Linked DNA regions of Homo sapiens: region 1 is linked to region 2. The links are contacts of gene promoters, found by promoter capture Hi-C in blood cells and fetal thymus (Javierre and others, 2016). All regions are on one chromosome and are shown on one strand. The core of a region is centred on a gene start or on the middle of the fragment in contact, and the rest is flanking DNA. Distances in the headings are between cores, read along the strand shown.

The links. Contacts are between HindIII fragments. The CHiCAGO score rates a contact against its expected background, and 5 or more counts as called.
Region 1: a contact is called between a fragment that was not itself captured here and the fragment with the promoter of IPO4 in region 2, in 1 of 17 cell types (total B cells). The highest score is 6.8, in total B cells.

The regions. Positions count from the first base shown.
Region 1 is chr14:21,469,746-21,474,317 of GRCh38, reverse strand. All of the region lies in intron 3 of RAB2B (RAB2B, member RAS oncogene family), which reads left to right. Among named protein-coding and RNA genes, the nearest start is that of RAB2B, 4.9 kb to the left of the region's middle. The HindIII fragment of the contact is 2,798 bases long and covers 1,200-3,997 here.
Region 2 is chr14:24,186,331-24,190,413 of GRCh38, reverse strand. It overlaps IPO4 (importin 4), which reads left to right and starts at 1,598. Exons shown (of 30, transcript NM_024658.4): 1 at 1,598-1,695; 2 at 1,776-1,862; 3 at 1,991-2,070; 4 at 2,157-2,198; 5 at 2,618-2,747; 6 at 2,835-3,014; 7 at 3,264-3,329; 8 at 3,435-3,536; 9 at 3,623-3,706; 10 at 3,963-4,083. The coding sequence starts at 1,627. TM9SF1 (transmembrane 9 superfamily member 1) reads left to right here. Exons shown (of 6, transcript NM_006405.7): 5 at 1-34; 6 at 606-1,265. The coding sequence ends at 999. RefSeq lists silencers at 2,027-2,146, 2,392-2,602. The HindIII fragment of the contact is 6,803 bases long and covers 1-2,806 here.

The DNA.
Region 1 (4,572 bases), core at 1,349-3,848, 2.7 Mb after region 2:
TTTAACCACTGCGTAGTCATGGAATGTCAGTAGCATGATTTATGTAACCATCATCCTACTGATAGAAATTTGGGTTGTTTTCCAATTTTTAAGTATTGCAGAATTTCACTGAGCATTCTTTTTTTTGAGACAGAGATTCACTCTTGTCACCCAGGCTGGAATGCAATGGCGTAATCTTGGCTCACCGCGACCTCCACCGCCTGGGTTCAAGCAATTCTCCAGCCTCAGCCTCCTGAGTAGCCGGGATTACAGGCACCCACCACCACACGTGGCTAATGTTTTTTGTATTTTTTGTATTTTTTTTCTGAGACGGAGTCTTACTCTGTTGCCCAGGCTGGAGTGCAGTGGCGTGATCTCAGCTCACTGCAAGCTCCGCCTCCCGGGTTCGTGCCATTCTCCTGTCTCAGCCTCCCGAATAGCTGGGACTACAGGCGCCTGACACCACGCCTGGCTAATTTTTTGTATTTTTAGTAGAGAGGGGGTTTCACCGTGTTAGCCAGCATGGTCTCGATCTCCTGACCTCGTGATCCGCCCGCCTCAGCCTCCCAAAGTGCCGGGATTACAGGTGTGAGCCACCACTCCCGGACGTTTTTTGTATTTTTAATAGAGATGGGGTTTTGCCATGTTGGCCAGGCCGGTGTTGAACTGACCTCAGGTGATCCACCCACCTAGGCCTCTCAAAATGCTGGGATTACAGGCGTGAGCCACAGTGCCCAGCCTGAACATCCTTATTTACAAAGTTTTTATGCCAATGTTTGAGAATTTTTGTGGAATATCTGCCCAGAAATGGAAACTCTGTCAAAAGCTTGTACATATTTTCAAATTTGATACATGTAGTAATGCCAAAATTTAGCTTGGCTTAGTGTAGTTTTGCCCTATCCAGATAAATTGCTTTCATGTGCATTATCTCATTTGATTTGTACATTTTTCCCCCTAAGTAAAATAATACCTTAGTCTCCATTCTAGTTAAAGGGAGCTAGTAAATAGCTAGTAAATAATATTTGGCTAAAATCTCTTACTTTTTTTGCTTACTTCTTACTATGTGATTCTGTTTCTTCTCTGAACTGAGAGCTAAAGCCATTATATCTGCAAACAGTGTACACATTATTTTTCCTTTTTTCTTTTCCTCCCTTTCCTCTCCTTCCCTCCCCAATGCTCCTCACCACACGCAAGTGTATGTCTTAAAAGTAGTTGAAGCTTAAGTTCATCTGTCTATCCATCCATCTATCCGTCTATCTCTACAGATCTATCCCCTGATCCCCTGCACTGGGGAATTTTTGTATTTTTTGTAGAGACGGGGGTTTCAACATGTTTCCCAGGCTGGTCTCGAATTCCTGGACTCAAGTGATCCGCCCTCCTCAGCCTCCCAAAGTGTTGGGATTACAGGCCTGAGCCTTGGCACCTGGCCCAGATGAATGTTTTGATGCTGGGGAAAAAAACCCAATAAGTGCCATTTAATGGAATGGTCATGGCAATGGCCTTTTTTTTTTTTTTTTAAGCACTCATATGGGACATGGTTGGATCATGAAAGTAAGAAAGTTGAGAGCTTGATTCTGCTGAGAATGCATACATAGAAAAACAAACAAAAAAGGAAAGTTGAGAGCCACGACTTTGGACAGAATCCTTAAGAACTACATGGTCATCCAACTGGCCTAGTTCTTTTCTGTTCCCTCTTAAAATTGTCTTGAGATTAATATTTGCTAAATCATAAAAAGGAACCAGTTTCAGAACACTGTGGTTTTCTATATATTTTGAAAATTTTAAAAGATTCATACGTATAATAATGTGTCCATCTAGTCTGTCGCCTTTTGGGTAAGTCTGGTCATTTCTCCGTTGTCAGCCCTGATCTCCTGCCCATTGTTTACCCATCTTAGCTTCCCACTTTATTGACCCATTCTCTCACTTACTTCCAAACCCATCCTACATGAAAATGTTTAGGGATTACTGTGATAGGTATTTTAAAGAGATCAGGTTGTCCAAAGGTTTTTGTTGTCTTTGTTCTGGCATTTATGTGGATTTAGAGAAGCATATTTTAAAAAATCGTGTGTGTGTGTGTATACACGTATTCCTAAATAATCATGCTAATGAATAGGTATTTTACTGTAATATAAAATACTGATCAAATAATATCAAATTGGTTTGTATTTTACTTTGGAATGCAATTAAAATTTTTTTTTCCTTAATAAACCGTTCATTGGAAGGAATGCATTTTGATTCTTAGGAAAATGGTGTATCTGACTTTCTAGGAGTTGATACTTCAAACTGTATATCTTAATATAGTATGATGCTTCCACTTGGGAGAGATTAGAAAGCTATTAATTATCTTATCAAACCTTCATCTAGGCCGGGTGTCGTGGCTCATGCCTGTAATTCCAGCACTTTGGGAGGCTGAGGCAGGCGGATCACCTGAGGTCAGGAGTTTGAGACTAGCCTGGCCAACATGGTGAAACCCCATCTCTACTAAAAATAAAAAAATTAGCCAGGTGTGGTGGCGGGCGCCTGTAATGCCAGCTACTGGGGAGGCTGAGGCAGGAGAATCACTTGAACCTGGGAGGCGGAGGTTGCAGTGAGCCAAGATCATGCCACTGCACTCCAGCCTGGGCAACAGAGCGAGACTCCCTCTCAAAAAAAAAAAAGGAAAAAAAAACCTTCATCTTAGTTCGTTGCTGCTGCATCTTTTCTTTTCTTTTTTTTTTTTTTTTGACAGGGTCTTGCTCTGTCACCCAAGCTGGAGTGCAGTGGCACCATCTCCACTCATTGCACCCTCAACCTCCCCGGCTCAACTAGTCCTCCCACCTCAGCCCCTCAAGTAGCTGGGACTACAGATGTGTGCCATCACACCTGGCTAATTTTTTGTATTTTTTTTAGAGGCGTGGTTTCACCATGTTGCCCAGGCTGGTCTCAAACTCCTGAGCTCAAATGATCTGCCCACCTTGGCCTCCCAAAGTGCTGGGATTATAGGCATGACCCACGGTGCCCAGCCTGCTGCTTCAGATTTTTTTACTGGGGATGGCCAAGGATACCTGAGACTGATATAGACAAGACCAAATTGAACTGCTCACTCTTTCTAGCTTACTGGTTCACAAACTTTGGCTCATGAACTGGAATGAGATGAAGTAGAGTGATTTTTTTTTTTTTTTTAATTTAGACAGAGTCTCACTCTGTTGCCCAGGCTGGAGTGCAATAGCGCCATCTTGGCTTACTGCAGCCTCTGCCTCCCGGGCTCAAGCAGTTCTCCTGCCTTAGCCTCCTGAGTAGCTGGGATTACAGGCGTGCGCCACCACGCCCACCTATTTTTTTTTTTTTTTTTTTTTTTTTTTTTTTGTATTTTTAGCAGAGATGGGGTTTCATCATGTTGGTCAGGCTGGTCTCAAACTCCTGACCTCGTGATCTGCCCGCCTTGGCCTCCCAAAGTGCTGGGATTACAGGCATGAGCCACTGCGCCTGGTGAGTGATTTGATTTTAAAAGGTTTTCTCATGACCCACTGATAGCATTTTCAGCTGCTAAAGATAAATGCTGCCATGTGATTGAACCATCATGTGGGCCTCCCTCAAACTTTCCCTTTTAGTTCTTGGTAGGCTGTGAGGGAAGTAGAGGGAGGCTTACAACCATAGCAGAAGAGGAGAAAAAGTAAGTGCTAAAAGGAAAACAAGACCCAAATAACGTAAGACATTAGGGAGTAAATATAAAACTGTAAGTATTTTTTTAATCTTAAAATATTATTAGTATTATGACAGGGGACTTCAGAATTAGTTTTTATTTTCCGATTCTGATTCTCTAACAGCTATGCAACTCACTCACATGTTTCTATGATTCTTATAGAAAGAGATTCTTCTGTTGTTGGAAAATTAACCTTAGAGTTAGTATACTGGAATTCTCTTCTCACCTACAAACCCCAGTTTAGGTTATATGATATAGTGGCTAAGAGGACAAGTTTTTGTCCTAGGAAGTACTAAGATCCTAAGTTTAAATTATGGCTCTAGCACTTAATAAGCTTTATGATTTGGGGCCGTTTATTAAACTTGTGTGAGCCTCATTTTCCCCATTTTTAAAAGGAAATAATAAGCCAGGCACGGTGGCTCATGCCTGTAATCCCAGCACTTTGGGAGGCCGAGGCGGGTGGGTCATGAGGTCAGGAGTTCAAGACCAGCCTAGCCAACATAGTGAAAACCCATCTCTACCAAAAATACAAAAAAATTAGCCAGGCATGGTGGTGGGCGCCTGTAATCCCAGCTAATTGGGAGGCTGAAGCAAGGAGAATTGCTTGAACCTGGGAGGCGGAGGTTGCAGTGAGCCAAGATTGCGCCACTGCACTCCAGCCCGGGCAACAGAGCGAGACTCCCTCTCAAAAAAAAAAAGAAAAAAAAAAAGGGAATAATAATATCGGCCCCAGGGTTGCTAAGAGAAGTAAATGAAATAATATATGTAATTGTCTCTTAAAGTTCGTAGCACATTTTATATGCCAAAAAGTAGTTTATAGTACTATTGCAGTGTTATAATTAGTGTTACCACTGTTACTGGTATTATACTATGAGAAAGCCATTTATTTTCCCACATCCTTAATCATGATT
Region 2 (4,083 bases), core at 349-2,848:
TCCACATGACTGTTGGAGGCTTCCTGCCTTTCAGGTATCCTCCCTTTATTCCATGGCTATTACTGTCAGGTTCCTGACCTCAATTTTTCCTGTCCCTACTCATCCAGTACCCTAACCCAACCCGTTGATCCCTGGTTCAGTGGTACCATTCAGAGATCATTAAATGGTTCCTCCTATCCCCAAGCAGGACTGAGCTTGAATGATATGAGAGTGTCTCACTTATAAAGCTCTCCGGAGACATTTCCCCCTTCACCTTCCTGGTTTCTGACTTTAATGCCTATGGACATCATGTGGGGTTTAAAGCCCATTTGATGACCCATTTACTTTGTTGAATACCTCTTTGTGCCAGGCAAAGAATAAAGTGGAATAAAATGGACAAGATCCCTGCCCTCAATCTATTAGGGAAGATATTCTTGAAGTGAGAGCGGCTAATCATAGGCAAAAAATCCCCATGAAGCCAGGAGATCTGGGGCAGAGAGTGGAGTGAACTCACTTTTCACAATGACCCAGCAACATGGGAGAGGGTGGGGGCTGGATTTCAGCCCAGCCACTGTGCTGATGGTGCACAGCCCTTTAATGCTGTGTATCATCTCTTTTCTTCACAGTGCCATCTCTGTGGAGCTGTACTACATCTTTGCCACAGTATGGGGTCGGGAGCAGTACACTTTGTACGGCATCCTCTTCTTTGTCTTCGCCATCCTGCTGAGTGTGGGGGCTTGCATCTCCATTGCACTCACCTACTTCCAGTTGTCTGGGGAGGATTACCGCTGGTGGTGGCGATCTGTGCTGAGTGTTGGCTCCACCGGCCTCTTCATCTTCCTCTACTCAGTTTTCTATTATGCCCGGCGCTCCAACATGTCTGGGGCAGTACAGACAGTAGAGTTCTTCGGCTACTCCTTACTCACTGGTTATGTCTTCTTCCTCATGCTGGGCACCATCTCCTTTTTTTCTTCCCTAAAGTTCATCCGGTATATCTATGTTAACCTCAAGATGGACTGAGTTCTGTATGGCAGAACTATTGCTGTTCTCTCCCTTTCTTCATGCCCTGTTGAACTCTCCTACCAGCTTCTCTTCTGATTGACTGAATTGTGTGATGGCATTGTTGCCTTCCCTTTTGCCCTTTGGGCATTCCTTCCCCAGAGAGGGCCTGGAAATTATAAATCTCTATCACATAAGGATTATATATTTGAACTTTTTAAGTTGCCTTTAGTTTTGGTCCTGATTTTTCTTTTTACAATTACCAAAATAAAATTTATTAAGAAAAAGGCTCATGCAGTTGGAGGTTTTGGTCTGGATATAGGAACTCGAGCCCTGCTGTTAAGGGCACGGTCCTTTATAAAGCCGAGCTGGCCACTGAATGCCCGAAGCTCGAGTTCTCCAACCCAGCTTGGGAACTCCCGGCGTGGGGAACCTACATTGCCAGAGTCGGGTTTCCGCGATTCAGCCGGTGCTCAGCCTAACGGAAGTGGAGGAGCCGGACCTCTTTGTGGGAAGCGAATTGAATCACCTTGGCAACCCGCGGGGCGTGCAGCAACGCCCTTTCCTCCGGAAGTGGGTGTCAGAACCTCCACGTGCTGTCCCTCCCCCTCCCCTTTTCGGCCCAGTAGCGGCGGCTCAGTTGCTGCCATGGAGTCAGCCGGGCTAGAGCAGCTCCTACGGGAGCTGCTGCTACCGGACACCGAGCGCATCCGTCGGGTACGGAGCAGGCGTAACCGGGCCAGGGCGAGCGGGAGGTTGCGGGAAAGGCCCAACTCTCACCCCTAGCTTCCCCCCAGGCCACGGAACAGCTCCAGATCGTTCTTCGGGCCCCCGCCGCTTTGCCGGCTCTCTGCGACCTGCTAGCCTCGGCGGCCGACCCCCAGGTGAGACCCCTGACTCTCCCCTCCGAGCTTCCCACTGTACGCCACCGGTCAAGCCCCAGTATTCGCCCACTGCGGTCCGCTCAGCACCTTCCTGCCCGGACCCCCACGTGCTTGCTTCCTCGTCCTAGATCCGCCAGTTTGCGGCCGTGCTGACCCGCAGACGACTGAACACCCGCTGGCGACGGCTGGCGGCGGAGCAACGGGAGAGGTGGGCTGGGCCTGGGGTGGGGCGGGGCCAGGCGGAGACTTTTCTTGGGCAGGCTGGGTACCAAACACCTGCCACCTGTGTTCCAGCCTCAAGTCCCTGATCCTGACGGCCCTGCAGAGAGAAACAGAGTAAGTACCTACCCACTTCTCTCGGGATCTTGACGACTTTGTCTAGGTTTCTGCCTTCCTTTTCGGCTCCAGGCTGGGACTTGTGGGGCAGGGACTTCAGTTCTAGACGCAAGGTGGAGTGAGGATTTTAAGGCTGTTTTGAAGACTAAAGTTCTTGAGGAAGGGTGATGATGATCTGCCAAACCCAAGTCAGAAGAATAAGACTGAAATTCAGGCTAAGTTAGACTGAACTTACCAGATTACATGCCCACAGTGCTGTTGGGCTCCCTCTGAGCTGCTGTCTCATGTGTCCCAACTTGGCAAAGACCCTGTGCCCACACCTCCTGAAAGTTTCTGTCCTGGCTGCCCCATTGAGCCTGGCCACTGTGTGCAGAGGAAGGTATTGAAGGGTGATTGGAGGAGATCTCTCCTGTTTGCAGGCACTGTGTGAGCCTCAGCCTGGCCCAGCTCTCAGCCACCATTTTTCGAAAGGAAGGCTTGGAGGCCTGGCCACAGCTTTTGCAGCTGCTTCAGCACAGTACCCACAGCCCCCACAGCCCAGAGAGAGAGGTACCATCACATGGTTGGCAGGAGGGAGGGCCTGAGAGGCTGGATAGACCTTGTAAGCTTGCTCTCCCATCCTCTATTCTTGGACAGATGGGGCTTTTGCTGCTAAGTGTGGTGGTGACCTCCCGGCCCGAGGCCTTCCAACCCCACCACCGGGAGCTTCTTCGGCTTCTGAATGAGACTCTTGGTGAGGTGGGCTCTCCTGGGCTGCTCTTCTACTCCCTGCGCACTCTGACCACCATGGCTCCCTACCTCAGCACTGAAGATGTGGTGAGATGTGGGCCCTCGTTATCTTTGACTCCCTTTCCTCATGCCTTCATGTCCTCACCCGTAAAAGTTACAAAGCTGCTTTGGATTCTTTACCTGCCTGTGGCCCTTCCTGACAATTGAGAGGGGATGCTGTAGGTGGGCCTGGCTGTTATGCCTGGGCTCCTCCTCGCAATTCAGGCTGTGAGGAAGCTGCCAGCTGCTGGGGTGTGAGATTGGGCTGCATCATGCTCTCTGTGATGTGTCCCTCAGCCTCTCGCTCGGATGTTGGTGCCCAAGCTGATCATGGCCATGCAGACTCTGATCCCCATAGATGAGGTGAGGACAGGTGGGCAGGAGCTCTGTTGGAAGGAGAGTGCAGAAGTGTCCAGTTTGGCCCACTGAAGAAGAGCATGGTAACCTTGTGCCTTGTTTGTCTGTCAGGCAAAGGCCTGTGAGGCCCTTGAGGCTTTGGATGAACTGTTGGAGTCAGAGGTGCCGGTCATCACCCCCTACCTCTCTGAAGTCCTCACATTCTGCCTGGAGGTGAGCCTGGAGTGGACATGGCCCCTGCTACATGCTCTGCTGGGACTCTCCTTCCCTGTCGCTGATTTTTATTATTCTGTGGACAGGTAGCTAGAAATGTGGCCCTGGGCAATGCGATACGCATACGTATTCTCTGCTGCCTCACTTTCTTGGTCAAAGTCAAGAGCAAGGTAAGTGAGTGCCCATTGACACACATCACCCCACCCCCATCTCCACCCTTAGTCTCACTCCTGGGGCTTTCGGTCCATCTCAGGGTATCTAAAGTACTGTGGGGGTTCAAGCCTTGGCCTGGCCTCACCCCAGCTCCTGCCTGGGAGGTTGGGAATTTTCTGTCAGACCCCTTATGGCCTGGAAGACTGGAATTTTTAATGTGAGCCCATCCTGGGAGCAGATTCTTAGGGACACTGTTCCACCTTCTCTGTCAAGGCCTTACTGAAGAATCGTCTCCTGCCACCCTTGCTGCACACCCTTTTCCCCATTGTGGCTGCTGAGCCCCCACCAGGCCAGTTGGATCCCGAGGACCAGGATTCAGAAGAGGAAGAGTTGG